Linked DNA regions of Homo sapiens: all the other regions are linked to region 2. Evidence: promoter capture Hi-C in 16 types of primary human blood cells and fetal thymus (Javierre and others, 2016). All regions are on one chromosome and are shown on one strand. The core of a region is centred on a gene start or on the middle of the fragment in contact, and the rest is flanking DNA. Distances in the headings are between cores, read along the strand shown.

Region 1 (7,027 bases), core at 702-3,201, 190 kb after region 2:
TCGTTCATGTGATCTACCAAGTATCTCAGGTGAAATCACACCCATTTATTCAGTTATTCTCATGGACTAACCTCTAATCTGTATAGTTTGTAAGTCACTCACTTTTTTATTAATTTGCCTTCAAAACATATTTTTAAACCTGGGGGGCCGGGTGCAGTGGCTCACGCCTATAATCCCAGCACTTTGGGAGGCTGAGGCAGGCGGATCATGAGGTCAGGAGTTCAAGACCAGCCTGCCCAACATGGTGAAACCCCATCTCTACTAAAAATAGGAACAATTAGCCAGGCATGGTGGTGGGCACCTGTAATCCCAGCTACTTGGGAGGCTGAGGCAGGAGAATCACTTGAACCCGGGAGGCGGAGGTTGCAGTGAGCCAAGATCGCACCACTGCACTCCAGCCTGGGTGACAAGGGTGAAACTCCGTCTCAAACAAACAAACAAAAAATCTGGTGGCAGATCTAAAACTTTAGCTTAAGAATTATTTTGGAGAATTAATTATAATTATCATTATGTCAAGAATGTATATTTAAAGCAATTCCTAGCATTGTAATGGTCACTTTGCTGAAATTATTCCCTAAACCTGTAAAAGTTTTTGTTTTTTTCCCTACTTTATAAATGAAGAAACAAAGCCCCAGGTCACGTAATTCGAATGTGATACAGTCAGGATGTTTTTTCTTCTCCTGTTCCCCCTACTCCAGGAATTTAATCATATATGTAAACCCAAGTTCTTAACTGCTAGGCTACAGTGGATCCATCCAGATAATGTTAGGACATTCGAATATGGATCATGTTGTTTGGTTTTTGAAACCATTTGCATGTTAGTGCATTAAAGAATTCATATTTCGAAGAACTGTATTTTCCCCATATTTTAAAAGCATTATTTTATATAATGTTACTTGGGATGGTCCAAGAGGAAGCAAACTAAATATTATCACCTAATGGTCCTTAAAAGGCTAGTTAAGATAAGAAGTACAAAGACATGCCCCCACACTACTCTTATCTTTCTCGCTGGTGGTATGCTGTGAAGGACTGAGTGGGCAACAAGGAAACTAAAATCTCCAGATGATCAGAACATGCATTTCTTTCTGCAAGTGAATAAAATGAAATGAGATTATGAAAAAAAAAAAAAGTACTGTTTTGGTTTTTATTCTTTGTATTTTGTTTCTTTGTACTTTGTTGTTTGTTTTGGGAAGAGGAAAAAGAAAATCCATAATCTTGTTTTCCTTTGTTTAAAGATTTGGGCAGTTTATTTCTTCTACTTTGCCAACCTTTGCGGTTTGTGAGAAATTTGTAGTAATGGAAATAAATAATGAAGAGAAGCTTGACACTGGTAAGTTGATTCTGGAGCTTGGAGAAGATAGTGGTCAACTAAATATTATGCCTTTTTTCTTCTGGCCCAAATTAGACCTGAATTACATGTGATTATATATAATATATGTATAACTTTTCTCCTTACATTACGTTTTTGGCCCTTCTCTGATGTATTTGTCTTATATTAAGCCTATACAGTATTGCCTACAAAATTTAATAGGGTGTGAATTTTACTTCAAAAATAAAATATTTCCTATTTTTAGAGTATTCATAGCAATGTTTCTTTAAATAGCAAACTCTTCCTGTGTGATTTGAACATTATTTGATTTTTTAAATGTATGTATATCTCTTCAGAAACATGATACTTGCTAAACTAAATTATATCCATATATCTGTATTACTATTATTTTCACTTCCCTGTTAAATATTTAGTAGTCACTGAGAAAAATAACATAGTATCACTTTATGTAAGTATAATATAAAAATAATTTCATAAGTTGTAAGTTCCTGGGTCCATGACAAGTACTTTTTTTGGAAACCTTTCCTCATTTAGTACATATATATCCTCCCTCTGTTCCCATATGTTTTTCTTGTTGTATATGCTAGGACAGGAGAGTTGCTTGGAATGCATTGAAAGGACCTTTTTTTAGGTTGACCTCTGGAATTAAATTCTCAGAATCTTATATTTGTTCAGCCTTATTTACATTATTACCCTATTATATTATTCCCAAATCATATCATATAGATTATTTAAGTCCATACAACCCCATCTACCTGGAGGGTGGAGAAGAACTGTTGTAGTATCACTTCCTCCCAAAGGGGTTCTCCATGATGTCTGTCCTTCCCGAGCACAGCCTCTCCTGTGCTTCATGAGTAGGAGAAAGTGGTGTGATTACAATTTTCAAAGGAGAGATGGAGAGATTTGAAAAACTAAGTGACTTGCTGCAAATCACACAGTATGTTAGTGACAGGTTCAGGACCCTGACAGTTACCTACTGCCAATTCATTTAGAATGATGCTGATATTTCTCTGGTGAAGCAAATTAGCAGTGGATGAGAAGTATAAAGATCAGATCAATGAATAACACTTATTGAATACTTACTAAGTGCTCTATATAATTTTGTAATAACCATATGAAATAGGTACTATTATTCCAATTATACAAGGGAGGAAACTGCAGCCCAAAAAGATACAAGTAAAAGAAATTTATCCAATATCATACCATTGACTATATAGGAACCCAGGTAGTCTAAACAAGCATTCTAAGCTTTTAACTACTACATTTTCCTACGAAATGCAAAGATTATTTCTAAGTTCTAAATTAATATAGGCTGACTAATTATAATTAGGTAGTGAAAGTGCTTTAAAGATTGCTGAAATATGTAATGCATTTATTTCAAGTATAAAAAATATGTGGGCTGAACATGGTGGCTTACACCTGTAATCCCAACACTTCGGGAGGCTGAAGCAGGTAAATTGCTTGAGTCCAGGAATTCAAGACCAGACTGGGCAACATGGCAAAGCTCCGTCTCTACAAAAAATACAAAAATTAACCAGGTGTGTTGGTGTGCACCTATAGACCCAGCTACTCAGAAGGCTGCAGTGGGAGGATCACTTGAGCCTGAGGAGGCTGAGGCTGTAGTGAATTGTAATTGTGCCACTGACCTTCAACCTGGGTGACAAGAGTGAGACTCTGTCTCTAAAAACAAACAAAAAAAGGTGGGAAAAATATTTATCTGGTTTCCATATTTATTTGCTGTCCATTGAATTCAGTAACCATAGTAGTGTTGTAAATTTTTCTTTCATATAGAACATTGAAGTAGGGATGTATAAATTAGTAAATTTTTCTTTTGATATGCCAAGTTGATTAGACTGATACTCTCATCAGCTTATTGTCATTTGAAATAATAAAGTCAGAAGCAAATTGCTAGTCTTGTTAGTGTATGACATTTATTATTTATTTGATATGCACTGAAGACTTTATTGAGTATAATGTTCTAAAAAATGAAAACTGTGGCAGTAAGAAAAGGAGACATAAAAGTTAAATAAAATTTTTAATTTCTGTCTAGATTATTACTTTATTGTAGAAAAATTTAAAGGAAGTAGCTCTTAGAGTAAGTTTTGTGATATTCTTTTGATAAGGCAATTTTCAAATTACCAGTCTCTGTCTTCTTAGAAGAGGTGAGGATCTTGGGTTCTTCTTGGTAGCTTGAAGTATCCATAATGATTAAGGTACTAAGTTAGCATTTTAAAGGACAGTTTACAGGTACATTGTTCCAAACAAGTAGAAGTATATAACCATGAAACTTTAGCCTGAGCGTTAGTTCTAGAAAGAAGGAAAGTATAGGAATACCTCAGAAATATTGCAGGTTTAGTTCCACACCACTGCAAATGAAGCTAACATCACAATAAAGTGAGTCACATAAATTTTTTGGTTTCCCAGTGCTGTAAAAGTTATGTTTACACTATACTGTAGTCTACTATCTGTGCAGTAGCATTGTATCTTTTAAAAAATGTATATAACTCGGCCGGGCGCGGTGGCTCACACCTGTAATCCCAGCACTTTGGGAGGCTGAGGAGGGCGGATCATGAGGTCAGGAGTTCGAGACCATCCTGGCTAACATGGTGAAACCCGTCTCTACTAAAAATACAAAAAAATTAGCCAGGCGTGGTGGTGGGCGCCTGTGGTCCCAGCTACTCAGGAGGCTGAGGCAGGAGAATGGCTTGAACCTGGGAGGCAGAGCTTGCAGTGAGCAGAGATCACGCCACTGCACTCCAGCCTGCGTGACAGAGTGAGACTCCGTCTCAAAAAAAAAAAAAGTATATAACTCAGTTTAAAAGTTTTTTATTGCTAAAAAATGATAACAATCATCTGAGCCTTCAGCAAATTGTAATTTTTTCTGGTGGAGGGTGTTTTCTGGATATTGTTGGCTGCTGATTGACCAGGGTGGTGGTTGCTGAAGGTTGAGGTGGCTGTGGCAATTTCTTAAAATAAGACAACAATGGTTTCAGGTGATGGACATGCTAATTATTCTGATTTGGTCATTACATATGGTACACATGTATTGAAATATCATACTGTTCCCCATGAATGCATACAATTATATGTCAATTAAAAAAATAATAAAAGCAGGCCGGGCGCGGTGGCTCATGCCTGTAATCCCAGCACTTTGGGAGGCCAAGGCGGGTGGATCACGAGGTCAGGAGATCGAGACCATCCTGGCTAACATGGTGAAACCCCGTCTCTACTAAAAAAATACACACAAAAAAAATTAGCCGGGCATGGTGGCAGTCACCTGTAGTCCCAGCTACTCGGGAGGCTGAGGCAGGAGAATGGCGTTAACCCAGGAGGCGGAGCTTGCAGTGAGCCGAGATCGCGCCACTGCACTCCAGCCTGGGCGACAGAGTGAGACTTCGTCTCAAAAAAATAATAATAATAATAATAAAAGCAAAAAAAGACAATATAGTTAGCTATAACAATGGACTCTTCCTTTCACAAAAGTTTTCTGTGTGGCATGCGATACTGTTTGATGGCATTTTACCTATGGTAGAACTTCTTTGGAAATTGGAGTCAATCCTTTCAAAAACTGTCACTCCTATATCAATTAAGTTTATGTAATATTCTGAGTCCTTTGTTGTTATTTGAACAATGTTCAAAGCATTTTGACCAGAAGTAGATTCCATCTCAAGAAACCACTTTCTTGTTCATCTGTAAGAAGCAGCTTCTCATCTGTTAAAGTTGTATCATGAGATTGCAGTAATTCAGTCACATCTCTAGGCTTCACTTCTAATTCTAGTTCTCTTGCTGTTTCTACCACATCTGCAGTTACTTCTTCCACTGAAGTCTTGAGCCCCTCAAAGTCATCCATAAGAATTGGAATCAACTTCTTCCAACTCCTGTTAATGTTTATATTTTGACCTCTTCCCATGAATCATGAATATTCTTAATGGCGTCTAAAGTGGTGAATTTTATCCAAAATATTTACTTTATTTTGGCCAGATCCATCAGATAAATCACCATCTATGGCAGCTATAGCCTTAAGAAATGTATTTCTTAAATAATAAAACTTTGAAGTTAATTCAAAGTCAAGATTACTCCTTGATTCATGGGCTACAGAATGGATATATTAGCAAGCATGAAAACAACATTAATTTTTTTGTGCATCTCCATCAGAGCTCTTGGATGGCTAGGTGCATTGTCAGTGAGCTGGTAGTATCTTGAAAGGAACCTTTTTTTCTGAGCAGTAGGTCTGAACAGTGGGCTTAAAATCTTCAGTAAACCGTACTGTAAGCAGATGTGCTGTCATCCAGACTCTGGTATTTCATTTAGCGAGCATAGGCAGAGTAGATTGAGCTTTATTCTTAGGGCCCTAGGATTTTCAAGTTGATCAATGAGCATTGGCTTCCACTTAAAGTCACCAGCTGCATTAGCCTCTAACAAGAGAGTCAGCTCTGTTCTTTGGAGCTTTAAAGCCAGGCATTAACTTCTCCCCTCTAGCTATGAAAGTCCTAGATGGCATCTTCTTCCAATAGGAAGTTGTTGGAAAAAAATCTGTTGAGAAGTCTGTTGGAGAAATCCGTTGTTTAGCGTAGTCACTTTCATTAATTATCTTACTAAATCTTCTGTATAACTTACTGCAGCTTCTACATCAGCACTTGCTGCTTCGTCTTTCACTTTTGTTATGGAGATGGCTTCTTTCCTTAACCCTCATGAACCAACCTCTTCTGGTTCCAGCTTTTCTTTGTTTTTTCTTTTTGTCTATTTGTTTTTGAGACAGGGTCTCACTTTGTCACACATGCTGGAGTGCAGTGGAACAATCATGGCTCACTGCAGCCTCGGCCTCCTGGGCTCCAGCGATCCTCATACATCAGCCTTCTGAGTAGCTGGGACTATAGGTGTGTGCTAACACACCCAGTTCATTTCTTCATTTTTTTAGAGACAGGGTCCAACTATGTTGCCCAGGTTGGTCTCAAACTCCTGTACTCAAGAGATTGTCCCACCTCAGCCTCCCTAATGTTCTGTTACAGTCACGAGCCAGTGCACCTGGCCCCCAACTTTTTTTCTGCAGCTTTCTCAGCTCTCTCAGCCTTCATAGAGTTGAAGAGAGTTCAGGCTTTGCTCAGGATTATGTTTTAGCTTAAGGGAATGTTGTAGATGATTTAGTCTTCTATCTAGACCAGTAAAACTTTCTATCAGCAATAAGGCTGTTTCTTTTCTTTTTTTTTTTTTATCATTGCGTGTTCACTGGAGTAGCACTTTCAGTTTTCTTCAAGAATTTTTTCTTTGTATTCACAACTTAGCTAACTTTTTAGCACAAGAGGCCAGCTTTGGGCTTGTCTGATCTTTCAACATGCCTTCCTCTCTGAACTTAATCATTTCTTGCTTTTGATTTAAAGTGAGAGATACATGAGTCTTTCTTTCGCTTGAACATCTAGGTGCCATTGTAGAGTTATTACTTAGTCTAATTTCGATATTATTGTGACTCAGGGAATAGGGAGGCCTGAGAAGAGTGAGAGAGATGGGTAAATGGCCAGTCGGAGCTGTCAAAACACATTTTTTGACTAAGTTCACTGTCTTATAAGAGTAAGACAGTGGCACTTGTAAACAATTATGATAGTAACATAAAAGATCACAGATGACTGTAACAGATATTACAATAATGAAAAAGTTTGAAACACTGTAAGAATTACCAAAATAAGACAGAGACATGAAGTG
Region 2 (6,500 bases), core at 2,691-5,190:
TCTCTGGGATAATGCTACCTGACCAAGTTTAAATTATTTCCTGTATAGTCTTAAAAGCAAACATGTTAACAAAAAGTTAACATAAAGAAAATAATTGTTTAAATAGCAAACTGTTAATATGTATTATTTAACAATTTTCCAAAATTGCTGTTTTCTATTATTTTTTCTTCCTCTTACTTTTAGATATTTTTCATGAACCTTTTATCTCCATTTTCCTTCCTTTAAAATTATGTTTCACTCATTCATGTTCATAGAATTTTCAATCATGTTAAAAGCAAATATGGGTTGTTTGCTTATTGTCACAGATAGCCTCTTGGTTATCATTCTCCACAGTCACCTTATTCATGAATTGTAAGTTGGAGATCAGCCTCCCAGTGCAGAACTGTTTAGAAATAGCCCTTCATGCTTGCTCCTCTATTCCCAGAGGAGTTTGCTGCACATGCCTAGATCTCTTTCCATCTGGCCTCTGCACAAAGGGTTTATCCCACTTTAACACAATTCTTTGTTTTATAGAGGACCTTGACTTTATCTGAGAGTGAATACATATGAAACAATAATCATGTTGCAGGAAAACCTGATTTGATCATTTTTTTTTCGTACTTGATTCCTAAGATGACAGTGAAACTACAGTTAGCCAGCAACAAAGACTAAAGGCTGTAATGATGACAGAGCTGTAAAAAAGTAAATGTGAAGGGTCTGATTTTTCCATTATTACAGTACTTACGTTTATGTGGCTTCAGTAAAAAAGAAAAAAAAAACTTGGTACATTTATTTTTATGTCTATCACTGAAAAACCTTTGTGAGTTTGTAAGACATTAATATGAAAACGGCTGCTTTTGCATACTGATAGATTTGTGAACTTTATTGCAATATATGTTTTAACAGAAAAATATAATTATAGTATTTTAAAATGTAACTCTTCCTCCCTCAGTGTAAATAAAATCACAATGACAAGAGTCCTGAAACCTCTAACTGAAAATCTTCCTTTAAAAATGCATGGTGGTCTTAATGTTTAAAAGAAGTCAGCCTATTTTCGCAGTGTATATTCATGTTATCTAACGTTCTTTTTTCTCCAATTATTATACATACAGTTTTATAAGTGAATATTTAAGAGTCAAGAATTTTGTGGTATTTTGCCTAGAAATAGACTGGAAGAACACAAAATCTAAATAAAGAATAAACACCAAAAGGCCAAAGGGAAAGAACAAAAAAAGTACATGTACATGCATATGCACACACACACCCCCACATAGGTGCTTTGTTTTTAATAATTTATTTCAAAACGTATTGTACAATGCTGTCTCAAATACTTTATTTGGGTTTAAAAGAGTTGTAGATGTTAGTATAGGTTGTTGATTTCAAATGGAAAAATTATTGGCATTGAAAGATGGCAACTGAAATCTTGAACCTAACAGTTAATTAAGGTTACTTCGTGAGGATTAAATATTAGAATTCTGCTCCGCCCCCCACCAAAGGATACCGGTATTTTTACTAAAATATATTTTTAGGTTTGTTTTGGCATATTCTTTTCAAAGAGATTTGAAACTCTTAAATTGTTATAATTACAAAATCTTATATTTGAACTTTCAAAACATTACTCATTTTGAAGTAGAATCTAAAACTACATTTAAAAACATTTCTGCCCACATTTGGTCTGTTTAAGGGACTAACCTTTGAACACACTAGTCTTATTTTGAAAGGGCAAGGTGTTTTTTTTTTTTAATAGCCAGTGCCCCACAGAAGAAAAACTGTGACACCCCCCCCCCACAAAGTGCTCATATATATCACCTGTGTTTGTTAGCAATGTTACCTCCAACTTTGTTATCTTGGAGTAATTGACGAGTAAATCATTACAAATGGGTCCAACTCTAAAGGCAAAATCGTCAAAAAGAAGAAAACAGCAAATCCAACTTGCCTTATGTTTATTAGAGGAAATCCTGAAACTTCTGTAGATTGCAGTGTTAGGAAAAACAAGTTTGTGATTACAGCGATGTTATGACCACTTCCCCACTCTAACTCTGTTGTTTAAGGGAGTCCACTCCTAACTGCTGACTCAGTTTGTCTTTACTGCCAGAACTGAAGCGTGACCCAAATTGTCTGCTGGGTTGAGTAGGAACAAACGGGCAAAATGATGATCACTTGGCAGTTCTAGGTTTACTAAAGGATACTTATTTGGTCTAAACACTGTTTGTGGGACTGCAAAGGTATAAATAATGCCCCTCCCAGGAAGGAAAAGGAAAATCTAAAATCTTAGGCAACCGACTCAAGGTCACTGACGGAAGGCACCATTTGAGACCGAGCTCCTCAACTACAGTCCCATCACGGACGGGAGCCACACAGGAGAGCGTGCAGGAGTTTCGAAGCTGCGTAGTACAATAGCTGGCGTGGGCAGTTCTTTTATACTCTGGCTAGAGTAAAATTAACGCACCTTTGCGTTTCTCCATCGCCTCTGACAGCATCCAGCTAAAGGGTGTAGGGTTAAGGAAAGCGGAACCCAGTTGTCCTTTCTCAGCTGAGTCCTTTCAGAAACTGGGACTGAGGAGGGTGAGCGCCGCGGAGAGGGGCAGGGGTGGGAGAGGAGAGAGGGGCGCGGGGCGGGGAAGAGGCGCGTCTGGAAGGCAGTGGGGAGAGGGACTGAGAGGAGTGGGGTTGAAGTCCAGCTGGGAGCATCCAGCGGCGCTGTCTGCAGACAGGGGCGAAGGCAGCCGCTGAGAGTGAGGCAAGAGCGGGAAGCCGAGGGAAGGGAAGGAAGTAAGGAAAGAGGAAGGAAAGGCAGGAGGGGGTAGAAGCTGAGCGGCTGCAATTTCTGCGGCCGGCTCAGTAGGAGGAGCAGGAGGGGAAAGAGGAGGATCCAGTCAGTCAGTCAGACAGCCAGCGGGAGGTGGAGAAAGCAGGAGGAGGAGGAGGATTAAAGATGGCCACCAACAGCTGCGGGAAACGGCAACAACCCCTCACTTTCCGGGATGGTCCCTGCGGGTCGGCCCGGCCTTGATGGAGAGAAGAAACCCGAGGAGCGCCGAGGCTGAGGCGGCGGCGGCGGGGACCCAGCGAGGACGAGGACGCGGCGGAGCAGGGACGGGGGCAGGAGAAGGGAAAGGCGGCGGCGTCGCTGCCCCTGCTGCCTAGCACCGCTGCCTGGCCCGGCGGACCGGTTCCCATACCTCGCGGCCGCAGAATCGAGCTCGGGCCCCGGCCCCCGGCCCGCGGCGCGGGGCTCCCGGGCCCCGCCGCGGACGTCGCGCCGGTCGCCCCTTCCCCGTAGCCCGTGCGCCCTCGGCGCGGAGCCCCGGCCCGCCGCGGTCCCGTCTCCTGGGCCTGTCCCGCCCGCGCCCTCCGCCGGCCCTCAGGTGAGTACCCCCGCCATCCTCCCCGCCCCCCGCGCTCCCGGAGAGGCGGTGCTGCCTCGGCCCGGCGCGCCTGGCCGCTTTGTTCGTGCGGGGCGGAGGCGCTGCCCACTCGCGGCCCTGCGCCCGCTCCCCCTAGGGACAGGCCGCGGCCCAGCTGCTGTCCTCCCCAGGGTCCGCCTTGGCCGGGAGCCGCCGCCGCCGCCAGGGTGGGCGGCCTGGCCCTAGTCCTCCGCTGCCTCCTGGGGAGGGCGCCGTCGCGGACGGGTCGGGGTCGGGGTCACGGGCGGCGAGCGGAGCGGAGCGGAACCGGGATATTTCGGGGGATAGGGGAGGAGAGGGCTGGACGTTACCTGTGGGAAGCAGTGGGGGCGTAGGCGGCCCTGGCTCGCAGGGGTAGGGGATCAGGCCCTGGCCCCCCCCCGCTGCATCCTGCGGGGTCTCAGCTCCCGGAGCCACCCGGACCTGAGCGCAGCCGAGCGCGGCCTCCATCCCTCGGGCGCTGTCTCCAGGGCTTCGGGCCTCTCCCCCTACGCCCTACGCTGGAAGCCCTTCGATTATGGAAGGAGCCAGAGATGCTCCAGTTCTCTTGTACTGGGGATGTGGTGGCATCGCAAACATTCACAGTTACGGCGGGATTTAAGAAGCAGATGAGACCTTTCCAACCAAAGGCCATCTGGCTAGTGTTTGAGCCTCAGGTGCAGTTTTTCATTGATTTTTACCATTTAATTGTGAGATCTGCAATATCAGGTCTTCCTTTCACAGAAACAATGTGATACAACCAGATTGAAAGGATATTTACTGCATATGTGAACCCTTGCATGGACTTCCAGTACCTTAAAAATGGTTAAGTGTTTTCTGTTGGAAAATGGTGCTCATGCATACGAAAAACTATTTTTGTTCAGTAATGGTTGCCAACTGGTTTACTATGTAGTTTGAACACCAAACAATTAAAAAGGAAAAACAAAACCCTATTCTTCGGGCTTTTTAAATAGTGGCATATTTCCAGGTTGGTATTTGGTAGCAGGTTGAGAACAACTGGTTTCGACTATCAGGCGACGTAACAAACATAACATAAAACAGAACTAAAAATGTGCTAATTTATAGAAAAACATGTTGTATTAGTGCATAAGTCTAGTAAAAAAATCCGACTTTAAAAAAAATAAAACTTTATCATGAGACTCTTAAGTATAGGAATTAGGTTGGTATGTTTTTATGTTTAAAAATATATATTGCATTAGAATTGAGAACTCTTCCTATGATATTTGAGCAATAGTAAAGTATGTTAATACTTTGAACCATTCTATCTCAAGCTGCTAGAAAGAGGTTTCTACTGCTAGTTTCTTTCCATGAGTTAAAATGGATTCATCTGAAATATATGTATGCTTTTGGTGGGTCACAGTGGGTCATGCCTGTCATTCCAGCACTTTGGGAGGCCAAGGCTGGGGGATCACTTGAGGCCAGGAGTTAGAGACCAGCCTGGGCAACAAAGAGAAAACAATTTTTGTAAAGAAAAAAAAAAATGTTTCAAAAAATTTGTATCACCTCCAAAAAGGAGGGATAAGTTAGAAAATACAATGTTCTACTCTTGCATAATCTGTTTTTGAAAAAGTAAATGACAGTATATTTCAATATTAGTTGGATTCTCTGCTTTGAAGAGATTCTTAAATTCCACTGCTCAACTTTGCAATTTTAAAAGTTTACATCAGTTGTTCTTAATTTATTTATTTATTTCTTTTTTTAGAGACAGGGTCTTGCCCTGTTGCCCAGGCTGGGGTGTAGTGGCACGATCACGGTTCACTGCAGCCTTGAACTTCTGGGCCCGAGTGATCCTTCTCCCACAGCCTCCCAAGAAGTTAGGACTACATGTGCATGCCACCATGCCTGTCTAATTTTTCTATTTTTTGTAGAGATGAGGGTCTCCCTGTGTTGCTCAGGCTGATCTTGAACTCCTGGCCTCAAGTGATCCTCCTGCCTTAGCCTCTCTAAGTGCTGGGATTACAGATGTGAGCCACCATGCCCTGCTTCTTTCTTAATTTCATGCATATACTTCTGAGGGTCCTTGGCTTCCCAGAAATCATATGCAGAATATAGCATATATTTGCTTTTTTCCTAGATAAAGACTCTGTTGGGTGATCACATTCTCAAAAGGATATGGGTCTGTAAAAGATTATGAACTTCTAGATATAAAATTAAAGAATACATATTCCATATTTGGAAAGCTAAAATTTTTAAATTACATTTGATGATTTATGTCCTTCATTTCTGATTATGCCCAAGAAATGTTTGTGATTAAGAGTTCAGCACATAGACGTTGTTTCTAACACATTCTCATTTAAATCGAAGGAAAATATTAATCCCATTTTACAGATGGGGAAATAGAACAAGTTGTTTTAAAGTCATACAAACACTGGTGGGCCAACATGTGAACCCAGACTGTCTGAAGTTAGAGCCAGCATTCATAAACAGGGTATACTAGACTTTGATCGGTAATACCATTTGATTGATGTTAAAATAAGTAATTGATGTTTTAGTTAGAATTGCAAAGTATATCTGAGATTATCATAGCATACAATATCATAAGATTTTAGAGCCCTGGACCCCCAGTATGAAGAGATCTTAATGATACTAACCTCTGTTAATGATGCTAGTCTGAAATCACACCCGAACTAGGGTCATTTCTACAGCATCTTTGGCAGGATCATCCACCTCTGATTTTAGTATTTCCTGTGATTACGAATTTCCCCTCTTCTTTTTTTTTTCTTGACCTTTTTTTTTTTTTCTTTTGAGATGGAGTCTTGCTGTGTTGCCCAGGCTGGAGTGCAGTGGCATCATCTGGGCTCACTGCAACTTCTGCCTCCCGGGTTTCGAGAGATTCTCGTGCCTCAGCCACCCAAGTAGCTGGGACTATAGACCCTCGCCACCACGCCTGGCTAATTTTTGTATTTTTAGTGGAGACGGGGTTTTACCCTGTTGGCCAAGCTAGTCTTGAACTCCTGAGCTCAAGTGGTCTGCCTGCCTCTGTCTCCCAAAATGCTGGTATTACAGGCGTGAGCCACCGTGCCAGGCCGTTTTTTTTTTTTTGTTTTTTTGTTTGTTTGTTTTTACATTTTAAATCTATATTTCTATTTATGTCGAGTCAAAATCTGCCTTCCT
Region 3 (6,600 bases), core at 838-3,337, 250 kb after region 2:
TCTGTGCATTCTGAGTTATTTATATTATAATGTATATATTTACAAATTTATTCTGAATTTATAAATGGTCCTTTTAAAAAATATAGCAGATATACAATTGTAGAGAAAATACTCTTTTTTTTTTTTTTTTTTTTTTTTTTGAGACAGTGTCTCACTCTGTCACCCCGGCTGGAGTGCAGTGAGTGGCAGTGGCGCAATCTCGGCTCACTGCAAGCTCCGCCTCCCGGGTTCATGCCATTCTCCTGCCTCAGCCTCCCGAGTAGCTGGGACTACAGGCGCCCGCCACCACGCCAGGCTAATTTTTTGTATTTTTAGTAGAGACAGAGTTTCACCATGTTAGCCAGGATGGTCTCAATCTCCTGACCTTGTGATCCGCCCGCCTCGGCCTCCCAAAGTGTTGGGATTACAGGCGTGAAGAATACTCTTAAAAATGAAAGAGCATCATCAGGTACTCGGAGCACCCTAGAAACAGCATGACTAAAGCATTAGCAGAGATTTACTGACTGAGTTGTAGGCATCTTCCTTTTCTTCTACCAGTCCTGTGATGAAAGTGGTAGTGAGTAGTGGAAAACTCAGGAGACAGACCAACCTAGAAGAAAGTTAAGAAGCTTAGGGCTTAGAAGATCAACAGGCTGCTTCTCTTCCTTTAACATTTTCCTAGCACCCTTGAACACAGACATTGTTTCTGTAGTTCATTCCTAGGAGATATTTCAAATAATTACTGTCAACAACAATCAGGGTCACATGAAGTCTTTCGTGGGTCCTTTTTCCATACAAAAATATTTAAAATTGTATGTTGTGGCTAATGGTATAAATATAATCTTATATTAAAATGTGTTTTTCTACCTAAAAGTTGATTTTTTTTCTGATTTTTAAAAGAAATTAAGACATTTTCTTGGGCCCCAAAATATGTGAGCTGAGGCACTGTGCTAACCATGTCTGGTAGATAACTTGGTCCTGACAGTAATAAGGGGATTTTTAAAATTATATTCATCAAAGGGGGTTCCTTGTATCTCAGGTAGCTAACAAATTCTTCTTGTAAATATATTTTTTAACTGAAAATTCTGATATATATTACTCCTCCATCCTGTTCATGTGTTTAAAATTAGCACGCCCTTTATGGAACAGTGAATTTATCCCTTGCTGTGTTTTTATTTGCTTTTTCTCTTGGCTGCCTGTAGTATGCATGAGCCTATTATTCCTAGAGGAGCCAGGCAAGGCCCTAGTCAACTCAAGAGAACATGCAGCATTTTTGCATATGAAGATATCAAGGAAGTTCATAAAAGGAGATATCTCCTGCAGGTGAGTCAATTTAGTAGTACTGTTTTATCATGTTTCTTTATTCTGAAAATGTATTGTTTTATTTTATTTTATTTTTTATTTTTTATTTTTATTTTTTGAGACAGAGTCTCACTCTGTCGCCCAGGCTGGAGTGCAGTGGCATGATCTCAGCTCACTGCAACCTCCGCCTCCCGGGTTCACACCATTCTCCTGCCTTAGCCTCCCAAGTAGCTGGGACTATAGGCGCCCGCCACCACGCCAGGCTAATTTTTTTGTATTTTTTTAGTAGAGACGGGGTTTCCTTGTGTCAGCCAGGATGGTCTCGATCTCCTGACCTCATGATCCGCCCGCCTTGGCCTCCCAAAGTGCTGGGATTACAGGCGTGAGCCACCGCGCCCGGCCGAAAATGTATTATTTTAAAATTGATACATGCCATGGAAACCCTCAATAGGATCTGCATTTTTTTTTTTTTTTTTTTGAGATGGAGTCTTGCTCTGTCACCCAGGCTAGAGTGCAGTGGCACGATCTAGGCTCACTGCATGCTCCACCTCCCTGGTTCACACCATTCTCCTGCCTCAGCCTCCTGCATAGCTGGGACTAGAGGCGCCTGCCACCACGCCCAGCTAATTTTTTTCTGTTTTTTAGTAGAGACGGGGTTTCACCATGTTAGCCAGGATGGTCTTGATCTCCTGACCTCGTGATCCGCCTGCCTCGGCCTCCCAAAGTGCTGGGATTACAGGCGTGAGCCACCGTGGCTGGCCAGGATCTGCATTTAGAATAATCCTTAGATATGGTTATAGACAGACTCAGGTCATGTGGATGCATAATTTTGTATAATGCATTTCTCTTGTTTAAACACAGCCTAAAATTTGGGTAATTATCTTTGTTATCCATCTTTCCCTGTAGCTATCCAAATCAACATTTTAGTTTTCTTCTAATATAAAAATTACATCCTTACTATAATTTTATAAAATTATAATTATAAAATTATAATTACTTTTTTTATTCTGTTACTAAAGACTTTAGAAATAAATTGAGCAGAATAAGAAATATCTATTTATTGTGTAGCTTAATCTGCAGGGAATTCATGACTCTAAAAGTGTTAGCAAATTAACTTCTTTTTTTTTTTTTTTTTTTTTTCTGAGACAGAGTCTCGCTCTGTTGCCCAGGCTGGAGTGCAGTGGCGCGATCTTGGCTCACTGCAAGCCCTGCCTCCTGGGATCATGCCATTCTCCTGCCTCAGCCTCCCGAGTAGCTGGGACTACAGGTACCCGCCACCAAGGCCGGCTAATTTTTTGTATTTTTTAGTAGAGACGGGGTTTCACTGTGTTAGCCAGGATGGTCTCGATCTCCTGACCTTGTGATCCACCCGCCTTGGCCTCCCAAAGTGCTGGGATTACAGGCATGAGCCACCGCGCCCGGCCGCAGATTAACTTCTTGAACATTGTAGAAATTTATAGTGGAAAAGTTAATATATAATTTTATTTGTGAACTTCTGTTTTTTCTTAATGTTTTTCTCTCTGATCATTTCAGCCTATTGCTGTGGAAGTTTTCTCTGGAGATGGACGGAATTACCTCCTTGCTTTTCAGAAAGGAATCAGAAACAAAGTCTATCAAAGGTCTTGTTTATTCGGAACACTTTGTATACTATTATGGGAAGATATGGGAGGGGGAATCTTTTCTCAGTTTTGCTGGTTTTTAAAAATCTAGATCAATGAGCCAACATCTTTGAAGAAAATAATTTATATTATTTTTGCCACCCTCTTGAAACAATTATTCTTCTGACTTTTAAAATGGTGCAATTCTATTGTGACATACCATTTTTCCTTCTGGTAACTTATAGTAGAGATCATCAAAAACTACTTTTATCACTAAGTCCTGTGTCTCTAAATACAAAGGATGATGAAACTGTAGCTTTAAAAATAAAACTTTAGTTTCTTTTTTTCTTCTTCTTTTTTTTTTTTTTTGAGACGGAGTCTCGTTCTGTCGCCCAGGCTAGAGTACAGTGGCATGATCTCAGCTCACTGCAAACTCCGCCTCCCGGGTTCACGCCATTCTCCTGCCTCAGCCTCCCGAGTAGCTGGAACTGCAGGCACCCGCCACCATCCCCGGCTTATTTTTTGTATTTTTAGTACAGATGGAGTTTCACCGTGTTAGCCAGGATGGTCTCGATCTCTTGACCTTGTGATCTGCCCACCTCGGCCTCCCAAAGTGCTAGGATTACAGGCGTGAGCCACCCACCGTGCCCGGCCAAAAATAAAACTTTAGTTTCAAAATAAGCTTTCTTTGTATTTACCAAAATGAAGCCAATGCAGTTTCTTGCTATTGAATGCAAGGACTGAGTAAATTTAATTCATGTGGGACTTTTCTCTGGCCATGGAAGGGATGTTGGATACCTTCATCCTTGAAAAAGTAGTATAGCTAAATAAAGCAGTTAATCTAATCTAAGCATATTTTTATCTTTAATAAACTATATTTAAAATTTACCTTTTAAGTGAAAAACAGGCCAAGCCGTGCAATGGCTCACGCTCATATTCTTAGCACTTTGTGAGGCCAAGGAGGGAGGATCACTTTGGTCTAGGAGTTAAAGACCAGCCTGGGGAACATAGTGAGACCCTGTCTCTATAAAAAAGAAAATAATTAGCCGGGCATGGTGGCACATGCCTGTAATGGCAGGTTGAGGTGGGAGGATTGCTTAAGCCCAGGAGGTCAAGGTTGTAGTAAGCCACGATCACACCACTGCACTCTAGCCTGAGTGAGCAAGGCACTGTTTCAAAAAATAATAATGATTTTTTTTTTTTTTAGACAAAGTCTTGCTCTGTCACCAGGCTGGAGTGCAGTGGCGCAATCTCGGCTCACTGCAACTTCCACCTCCCAGGTTCAAGCAATTTTCCTGCCTCAGCCTCCCAATTAGCTGGGATATCAAGGTGCACCACCACACCCAGCTAATTTTTGTATTTTTAGTAGAGATGGAGTTTCACCATGTTGGCCAGGATGGTCTCGATCTCCTGACCTCATGATCTGCCCGCCTCGGCCTCCCAAAGTGTTGAGATTACAGGCGTGAGCCACCACACACAGCCTATAAATTTTTTAAAAAAGGAAAAACAACACACATCTCTGGTACTTAAAAGATAATTCTTTTGAATGTGTGAATAATAAGGCTATTCTGAACTAACCATGTAGATGAGAGGCATTCTCTTGTTCTTTGAAGGGTGATACAGATCCTGGCAATCCCTCCATTATAGAAAATTTTATATTTCAGATTATTTCCATGAGGAATAACTAAACCATCCAACATTGCTTCTCATTGCAGTACAGTAATATTACCCGTGAGCACCTGGGAAATGAGGGTGGTTCTTCAAATAAAGGGCCTGTGGATGTTGATTGGTAACCCAAAACTCCTTTCACATATGGGAAGAGCTAAGTAAAGTGATTGAGATTCACTTTTACTTATCTGATTTTTTTAATTTCTAAAGGTGCTATTGTTTTCAGTGCTAAGAAATTATTTCCTCTTTAGAGAAGTCCAAAATTTATATATTCCTTTTGCCTGCCATTTAGTGGGTTATGGGAGGGTAGACGCAACTATGAAAATCTAAACGAATCGTCCTTTCTTAGGCTTCCCATTAGATCCTGACTGAGACTTCACTTGTAATTTTACGCTATTTTAAATTTTTCAGGTTTTTGGCTGTAGTGCCATCTCTAACGGACAGTTCAGAATCTGTATCTGGGCAACGACCAAACACGAGTGTGGAGCAGGGGTAGGTGGTTTGTTCCTTGCATGTTACAGTTTAATAGTGAAGTTGGGATGATTCATATCTGGACAGTATTATTTAACATTTTAGATGAGTGTTTTTCCCCTGGTGGTTGCAAATTTTTTTAAAAAAATACTGAAAACTAAAGGAAGAAAAGAAAAAGGTATGCATAAGCACTGTGTCAAATCACTGCTCACATTTTGATCAATTACCTTCTGTTCTTTAAAGCATGAGTATTGCTGTGTGCATGATTGAGTTTATACTCTAAATACAAGTTTTTATTCTGCTTCTTCTATTCAGTGTTATATTTAAATATTCCCTCTCATCTTTAAAAAACTATTCAGAAACATAACTATTATTCGCTATCTATTCATCACATATATAAAACATCATGTAATTTTTGGATATTTCATCTTTATCAGGTTTTTGCTTTTTTTTAATTATTGTTAAGAGATGGAGTCTCGCTCTGTCACCCAGGCTGGAGTGTAATGGCACGTCTTGGCTCACTGCAACCTCCTGGGTTCATGGCGATTCTCCTGCCTCAGCCTCCCGAGTAGCTGGGATAATAGGTGCCTGCCACCACACCTGGCTAATTTTTGTATTTTTAGTAGAGACAGGGTTTTGCCACGTTGGTCAGGCTGGTCTCAAACTACTGATCTCAGGTGATCTGTCCACCTCGGCCTCCCAAAGTGCTGGGATTACAGGCGTGAGCCACTGTGCCTGGCATTTATCAGGTTTTCTTATCATAAGACTGGAAATGTGATTCTTCTTTTTTTTTTTTTTTTTTTTTTAATTTTTTTCTTTTGAGACAGTTTCCTTCTGTCACCCAGGCTGGAGTGCAATGGTGTGATCTTGGCTCACTGCAACCTCTGCCTCCTGGGCTCAAGCGATTCTCAGCATCAGGCTGAGCACTTCCCAGCCTGAGGCTGATTCAAGCCTCAGTCTCCCAAGTAGCTGGGATTACAAGCATGTGCTACCATGCCTGTCTAATTGTTGTATTTTTAGTAGAGAAGGGGTTTCTCCATGTTGGCGTGGGTGGTCTCAAACTCCTGGCCTCAAGTGATCCACCCATCTTGGCCCCTCAAAGCGCTGGGATTGCAGGCATGAGTCACCATGCCCGGCTATGATTCTTCATTATTTTATTGTGGTAGAGTCCCCTTAATAAAACAAAGAGTAGGAATTTTAAGGCTCTTGATACACAAAACCAGCTTGATATTCATAAAAACTATACAAGTTTATATTGTACTATTAGTGGATAAGTTTGTCTCAATAGATACTTGCTAACTTTGTATATTATTATTATTTTTTTTTTTTGAGACGGAGTCTTGCTCTGTTGCCCAGGCTGGAGTGCAGTGGCACCATCTCAGTTCACTGCAGCCTCCGCGTCCCAGGTTCAAACGATTCTTCTGCCTCAGCCTCCCGAGTAGCTGGGACTACAGGTGCGCGCCACCACACCTGGCTAATTTTTGTATTTTTAGTAGTGATGGGGTTTCACCATATTGGCCAGGCTGCTCTCAAACTCCCGACCTCGCGATCCGCCCTCCTCGGCCTCCCAAAGTGCTGGAAT
Region 4 (7,105 bases), core at 4,606-7,105, 230 kb after region 2:
GGTGCCAATGTGTCCTTTGTAAAGTTGCCTAGGTATTATTCTTTGCTACCCAGATAGATTTAAATACCTTAATACAGTAATACAGTTTGGTAGGTTTGTACTGTATACTACATCCATGTGTAAAGGCTTACACAGCATGAAGAGTTGATATTAAAAGAATATTCTCTTATCAGTTGAATCTTTACAAAGTTCCTTGTAGTTTATATTCTCTTGAAGTTGTTATTTTTTGTGCATGTTCACAGTACTTTTAATTAAGGGTTTGGCCTGGTTTGGCACAATTGATTAATCTTATTTAATACTTAATGTAGAAAGTAAGAAATAATTGTTACATGTTTTGTTAGCATATGCTACACAGATACATAGGCTCTGTCATGTCACCTAAGACTTTTCAAAGGGATATATTTGTATTTAAGCCAAAGAGAAAAATTCTCAAATGAGGGGATGAAATTAGAATGTCAAAAAAAAATGATTTTAGTAACATCTTAATTTTTTTCAGTACTTTTGAATATAGATCATTTATCCTAACAAAATATATTTGTGAGGAGACTCCCCTAGCTGTCACATCCTCGTGTTCTCAGGGAGACTGCTCTGCCCCACAGCATCGTTAGTGGCTCTCCTCCCTGGGAGCTCTTTTTTTTTATGTAGCCCTCATATCATTCATTAGATGATATTGATGTGTCTCATGGGTTCTGAAATCCATAATAGTAAGAGCTTTGTATCTTTTAACTTAGCACCTGCATACTTAGCATGGCATCTGGTATATAATAGACCTAATAAAAGTTCATGTATGAATGATTAACAGGTGTTTTACTTTTGTCTATTATACTAAAAACATACCTTTCATGTCTTTAGTCAAAGAGAAGATCACAGGGATTGTCACTGGATGCAGTGTATCATTGCCTCAATAGGACCATCTTGTACCAGTTCTCACGGGCACACAAAACCGTTCCTCAGCAAGTAGCTCTGCTTGATTCACTCAGGGTCCTCACTGTAAACAGAAACTTGATCCTGGGACCTGGGAACCATGACCAAGAATTCATTAGCTGTCTGGCCCACTGCTTGATAAATCTACATGTTGGAAGGTAAATCCTTTAGGTTCAGTTTGCCATGTTAAATTTGGCTTTGATGTTATTCCAACAAAATTCTTTATTTTTTTTGATAGTAACATTTCTTTTACCCTTACTCTGTTTTATTTAAACCTTTATGTAAAAAGGTAAAGGGCAAGTGTTGAATTTTTGCAGTGAAATAATGGGTATTTTTTTTTCCTTTAACTTAGTTTTCTACACCTTTAAAATTTTCCATTATCACCATATGTCACTTATATAAGGAAGTTTGCTTTTAAAGCAAATAAAATATATACCATTGAAATCTAAGAGAAGTAAAAAGTGAAGCTCAATGCAGTGTTATATGTTAAATGAGTAAAATTAGTATTTTTCAGTTGATTGCTTTGACAGATATTTCATTAGAGTCTGCCGGGGCCAAGCATTGAATTAGGGGCTGGGACAAAATGTGAGTATGATAGACCCTGTGGCAGCCTTCTTGAGGGGAAACAGCTAAGCAAGACCAGTCAGCTGTATTGAGTGATCTGCTAGGAACAACCCAGTGCTTTGGAGGCACATAAGAGGGGCCCCTAACCTGAAAGAAATACCTGCTGAGCTGCAGCTTGAGACCTGGTTGGGGAGGACAAGAGAATGGAGACAACTGCTACTGGAGGAAAGAACAGTCTGTATGAATGCCCAGAGGGAAGAAGGAGTGTGGCACCTCAGGGGAACTGCAACTACTTCACTACAGGAGCAGAGTAGTGAGATATAAGACTGGAGAGAGGACACAGGCATATTAGAAAAATGTTCTTAGTTGAATGAACATTTTGTAATTATTAGGTAAAAATGTTCACAATAATCAAAAGGCATGTTAAATATTAAGGTAATAATCTTGATGCTATAGATCAGTCTAATTACATTTAGTCAGGTGGATTTATTTGATCACCTCTTAAAAATGGCATCTTCCTGGCAAACTAGAATTCTGTTCTGTGCATCTGCTGAGTAGACATTCAGTGTCTGCTGGTAATGGAAATAGAGTAATTCTTAGTTACTGTAGTCTTCAGCTAATCATTTCCTTCATAAAGTTTAAACTGACTGGAATTTTTCAGCAACGTGGATGGATTTGGACTGGAAGCAGAAGCCCGCATGACCACATGGCACATTATGATCCCCTCGGACATTGAACCAGATGGTAGTTACAGCCAAGATATTAGTGAAGGTAATTGCCTTGACTTGGGATGTTTTTAAATTGTGGTTGTTTTATCTCCAGTTTTTAAGACATAACCAACAAATTGGCTTCAGAAACTGCCAGCATTGATAGCAACTCTCCCAGTAGGGCAACCTATACATAAAGAGTCTCCTCATGCCAATAACAGTAAAGCACTAACCAGTAATATTGCTAAGCTCATCATTTCTTAGTAACACTGTGAGATTTGGTGGTGGTATTAATATTTACATTTGCTTAAGTAGAAGTACAAATACTACCTTGGAATTAACTATAAAGAGAACTGCCCAATGATAATGCCAGGCATATCACATTAGAGTAGGCTAATATTGCTTGAGACAGGTTATCAATAGTGCTATTTTTTATTCTTCTTTATACTCTCTCTCTTTTTTTTTTTTTTTTTAAACAAAATCTTGCTCAGTTGCCCACAGTGGAGTGCAGTGGCACTATTTCAGCTCACTACAACCTTTACCTTTCGGGTTCAAGTGATTCTCATGTCTCAGCCTCCTAAATAGCTGGGACTACAGGTGCACATCACCACGCCTGGCTTAATTTTTTTTTGTATTTTTAGTAGAGACAGGATTTCACCGTGTTGGCCAGACTGGTCTCAACCTCCTGACCTGAAGTGATCCACCGGCCTTGGCCTCCCAAAGTGCTGGGATTACAGCTGTGAGCTACCATGCCCAGCCCCTCTCTTTTTTTTTTCAATCTGGTTTTCCCACTAATCCTGTAAGGATTGCATATTGAAGTCTTTGTATGGATTGATTTCTTATTTCCACATGTTTAGTGATAAAGAGAAATCACTCTGGTGGTGTTTGTCTCCCCAGAAATACTGTGCGATAGTTTTACATATGGTTTCATTGTTGAGAAGCCCAGCACTCATTTTAATTTCATTCCTTCATTTAAACATGAATTTATTCTCTGTTCTTTCACCAAAATGTTTTGAACCCTAAACACCAAAGATGCGGTTATTATTTTCACCCCCTGAGGAAGTGGCGTTGGTTCTCATAGCAAGGTCCTCAGAATAGCAACATCAATATCATTTGGGAACTTGGTAGAAAAGCAGATTCTGTTGCCCTACTCTGACCTACTGAATCAGAAACCCTGAGGTGAGGGACTAGCAGCTTGTTATCACAGGCCCTCAGGTGATTGCTGAGGGCCGACTGGTCTGGAGGAGGAGTCAGGCATACAAACAAGGAATCCAAAGCAAGAATGAATTTCATAGTAAAAGTCTTTTCAAAATATTTCTTTTCTTGTGCAAAATATTCAAGAATACTAACTTAGTTTTGAACTCACCTTAAACATTCAGATTTAAAAATTACTTTTAAATGGGGGATAAGTTTTTAATCTAGAAAAAGTTAGTTAATTACATATATATAATTTCCAATTTTATAAATAAAAATGTTCTTTTGTATGAATATAAAGTTTTTTTAATGTTTTCTAAATAGGCAACCACAGTTTCAGTTGTCTAAATAACCTTTTCACTGGGCTAGATACAACATGAGCTTTGTTTTTTTTACATTAAATACTGTAGTCGAAATTCCCACATGTAAACATGAAGAAAAATAAAAACTAACTTTATACTGTGTTTTGATCATTTGCTTACTTTTTTGTTTGTTTGTTTGTTTGTTTACTAGGGCGTCAGCTTCTCATAAAAGCTGTCAACAGAGTTTGGACTGAACTGATACATAGTAAGAAACAAGTCTTAGAGGAACTTTTCAAAGTAACTCTACCTGTGAATGAAAGGGGCCACGTGGACATAGCTACAGCAAGGCCACTCATTGAAGAAGCTGCCCTGAAGTGCTGGCAGAATCATTTGGGTAAGGCCTACAGAGATCATACCACCAGGAGATTTACATGTGGCTATCATATATGGGTATACTTTAAATATGTGACTACAGCATTCACAAAAGGATTCTATAAAGTCATCCTTAAAATCAATATAACAACCATTCTAGAATGATTATACTGAGATCTTAGTTCTCTTTGATTTTTTTTTTTTTTTTTTTAGCATCTGAGGTATGTTATACATCAGGCGTTTATGCATTCAGAATGTAATGCATTGCTAACAGCTCTAGTATTGTCACTGTCTTGGCTACAGGTCCACAATCCCTTAACTATAATTTTGAAATTCAAAAAGCTCTGTTTTTTCATTAATTTGGTGCCAAAACTGACTTTATAACAGAACCTAATTTATCTTTCTTTGTCCTACTTGGTATGGGAATATTCATACATTTTGTTGCAGTAATATTGACGTATTAAATTATAGCTTATTACCATAGATTCTCTGGTGGCATTATATAATCTAGTGTATAAGCTGTATAGCCTTTTAAAAATCCAAATAGTTTCTAAGTTGCGAAGTATACCCAACACCAAAGGTTTTAATTAGGTGATTATGAATTATTAATATAGAAACTCGTTATAGTTAAATTTGCATGTTATTACAGAGCTGTGAACTTTCAACCAACTATCAGTTCAGCTAATACAATTTGCGAGCAGTCATCCTTAAGATTACCAATAAATAAATTTGTGATATCTGAATGTAATATCTGCATCTGTAATATGTGCTACTTTTGTTAACTACAGGGTTGTAGTTTATAACCAGATAAGTTTTTAAAGTAAGACTCATAAATACATGGAGAAATTATAAAATAATCTAATTTGATTTTTTAATAGCCCATGAAAAGAAATGCATAAGTCGAGGAGAAGCTTTAGCGCCCACCACACAGTCCAAATTATCCCGTGTCAGCAGTGGCTTTGGTCTTTCCAAGTTAACAGGATCAAGAAGGAATCGAAAAGAAAGTGGTCTTAATAAACACAGTCTTTCCACCCAGGTACTTTTTTAGTTTCATTGCTGATATTAGTTGTAGTATTTTGTATAATATACTTAACATGTACAAGCAATTGATTGGAAATGAAACTTTTCTGTATTTTTGCTTTAGAATAGAGATAGAAGTAATCCAGACTATGGGAATTTCTCTCATTTTCTTATGATAAAACTATATATGAGTGCTATTTACTTATACCCATTTTATAACTGGATATAAGATGAGATTTAGAGATTAATGTATGATCAGACTATAGATAATTTTCTCTCAATTTTCCCAGCTTTCAATAATGTTATTACTAATAATTATATAAATTTTAAGGCAATAGCCAAACAAGCCTTTTTTAATTTTTACAATCTTGTTGTGTATACCTATGGTTTTTTAAAAGCTCATCTGCCTCCAGCATTAACTTCTTCCTCATCCTACTTCCTTCACCATCCCAGAATCTAAGTGGCAGCTATGAAAAGGATCTGAGAGAAATAGTATGTGTCAGCCATCTCATGCATCAGGTTAGGTTTTCTAGGAAGCAAACTCTGAGATGGAGTTTAGTGTGCATAATGTATATTAGGGGGTGCCCTTGGGATCAATACCTGTGGAAGGGAGAAGAAAGCAGGATTGGACATAGGGAAAAGTCAGGCTGCAGTGCTGGTCTAGTGACAGCCTCAGCCAAGCTAAGTGGAGCTTTGAGGACAGAATACCCTCTTATAATTGACCTCCATTAAGCTGAAATGTGTGAGTCTTCTTACCCCTAGATCGTTGGATGTGGGGCACCCCGTCGGCCCTCTGCAGCTAAGGCCATCCCTGAGGGTGTTGAGAGCAGCCCAGACACGTGGGCAGCAAGCCCTTCCTTGAAGGGGCTTTGGGGGTGGGAGAGCATGCAGATCTGTGTCCATCACACAAGCATATAATTCATTCTGAATTTTTTGTTTTAGTTTTCTGTTTTGGTGCTTTTGGCAGAATTTTAACCAATTATTTAGCATTAATTTCAAGGGTAATTAACTATTTTTTTCCAGAAATCCATGAAATATTAAGACTCTTTTTCCATCCATTGTTAGGAGATTTCGCAGTGGATGTTTACTCACATTGCTGTTGTTCGTGACTTAGTAGATACACAATATAAAGAATATCAGGAGGTAAGGACTTATAATCATCATAATGGTTTGTTTTACATTTTTTGTATGTGAAAGGTCTCTGTTTGTCCTGGTATCTTTCTGCCCATTTTAAGGTACTTGCTGGACTGCATTCGTCATCAGATGATGGTTTTAATTATTCCTGCCATCAGCTACTTTGGCTACTGATTTTAGGATGGAAAATTTTAATCTTCTGTCAACAAACTGCATTTCAAAAAGCAACTAACTGAAAATGAGCCCAGCTGAATTCTGTTGACATTCACTACTGATATGTTACATGTCTTTGTTCCTAATAAAAATAAAAATGTAAGAATGAGCCTTCTTTTTCAGGCTTTTAACAAGGAGATTGTGAAAATACGCATCCAAGTCTCTGAGAAGTCTCTTAAAATTGTAAAAAATTACAAGATTGAATGAAATTATTTTTTACTATACTACAAGTGCTTGGTGATTATGTCAGTGAAAAATAAATTTATTGAAATTCTCTTGGTAAATTCATAATTACTCAAAAGCTTATCTTAAATATTTTATTCTCAGATTAGCTATTTTGGATCTATTAAAGGTTTCTGAATGGTTAACTGCTAATATTTTACGGATATAACACTAGATCCTTAGTTTCCCCAACCAAAGAACATATCAGTACTACTGTGATAGATAATTTTTTAATTGTTCACTCAGTAATCTTTACTGTCAGTTATATTTTAGAAATCTTTATTTTTAGATTTAAATTGTATATACTTATATTCCATGAATCATTGGGCAAGTTATTTGTCACTGTCTACTGTTGAAATGTTATATATTTGTCATTTGATAGATAAGAACTTGTACTGTGTCATAATTTCCATTTAAAAAATGGTTTGGATCTATCCCAGTGGCCAGAAGAAA

What was found. The method cuts DNA at HindIII sites, captures the fragments that hold promoters and counts their contacts. A CHiCAGO score of 5 or more calls a contact.
Region 1: a contact is called between a fragment that was not itself captured here and the fragment with the promoter of WDFY3-AS2 in region 2, in 5 of 17 cell types (endothelial precursors, M2 macrophages, erythroblasts and 2 more). The highest score is 12.0, in endothelial precursors.
Region 3: a contact is called between a fragment that was not itself captured here and the fragment with the promoter of WDFY3-AS2 in region 2, in 1 of 17 cell types (erythroblasts). The highest score is 5.2, in erythroblasts.
Region 4: a fragment that was not itself captured here is called in contact with the fragment with the promoter of WDFY3-AS2 in region 2 in 5 of 17 cell types (endothelial precursors, M0 macrophages, M1 macrophages and 2 more); the score reaches 9.9 in endothelial precursors.

The regions. Positions count from the first base shown.
Region 1 is chr4:84,767,138-84,774,164 of GRCh38, reverse strand. WDFY3 (WD repeat and FYVE domain containing 3) reads left to right here. Exons shown (of 68, transcript NM_014991.6): 30 at 1,236-1,330. Among named protein-coding and RNA genes, the nearest start is that of WDFY3-AS1, 26 kb to the left of the region's middle. The HindIII fragment of the contact is 1,258 bases long and covers 1,323-2,580 here.
Region 2 is chr4:84,963,056-84,969,555 of GRCh38, reverse strand. WDFY3-AS2 (WDFY3 antisense RNA 2) reads right to left here and starts at 3,940. Exons shown (of 4, transcript NR_152775.1): 1 at 3,698-3,940. WDFY3 (WD repeat and FYVE domain containing 3) reads left to right here and starts at 2,866. Exons shown (of 68, transcript NM_014991.6): 1 at 2,866-3,347. The HindIII fragment of the contact is 8,814 bases long and covers 1-6,500 here.
Region 3 is chr4:84,711,598-84,718,197 of GRCh38, reverse strand. It overlaps WDFY3 (WD repeat and FYVE domain containing 3), which reads left to right. Exons shown (of 68, transcript NM_014991.6): 49 at 1,182-1,302; 50 at 2,815-2,900; 51 at 4,959-5,039. Among named protein-coding and RNA genes, the nearest start is that of WDFY3-AS1, 82 kb to the left of the region's middle. The HindIII fragment of the contact is 2,953 bases long and covers 611-3,563 here.
Region 4 is chr4:84,734,164-84,741,268 of GRCh38, reverse strand. It overlaps WDFY3 (WD repeat and FYVE domain containing 3), which reads left to right. Exons shown (of 68, transcript NM_014991.6): 39 at 853-1,082; 40 at 2,150-2,259; 41 at 3,903-4,085; 42 at 4,942-5,099; 43 at 6,149-6,226. Among named protein-coding and RNA genes, the nearest start is that of WDFY3-AS1, 59 kb to the left of the region's middle. The HindIII fragment of the contact is 1,758 bases long and covers 4,977-6,734 here.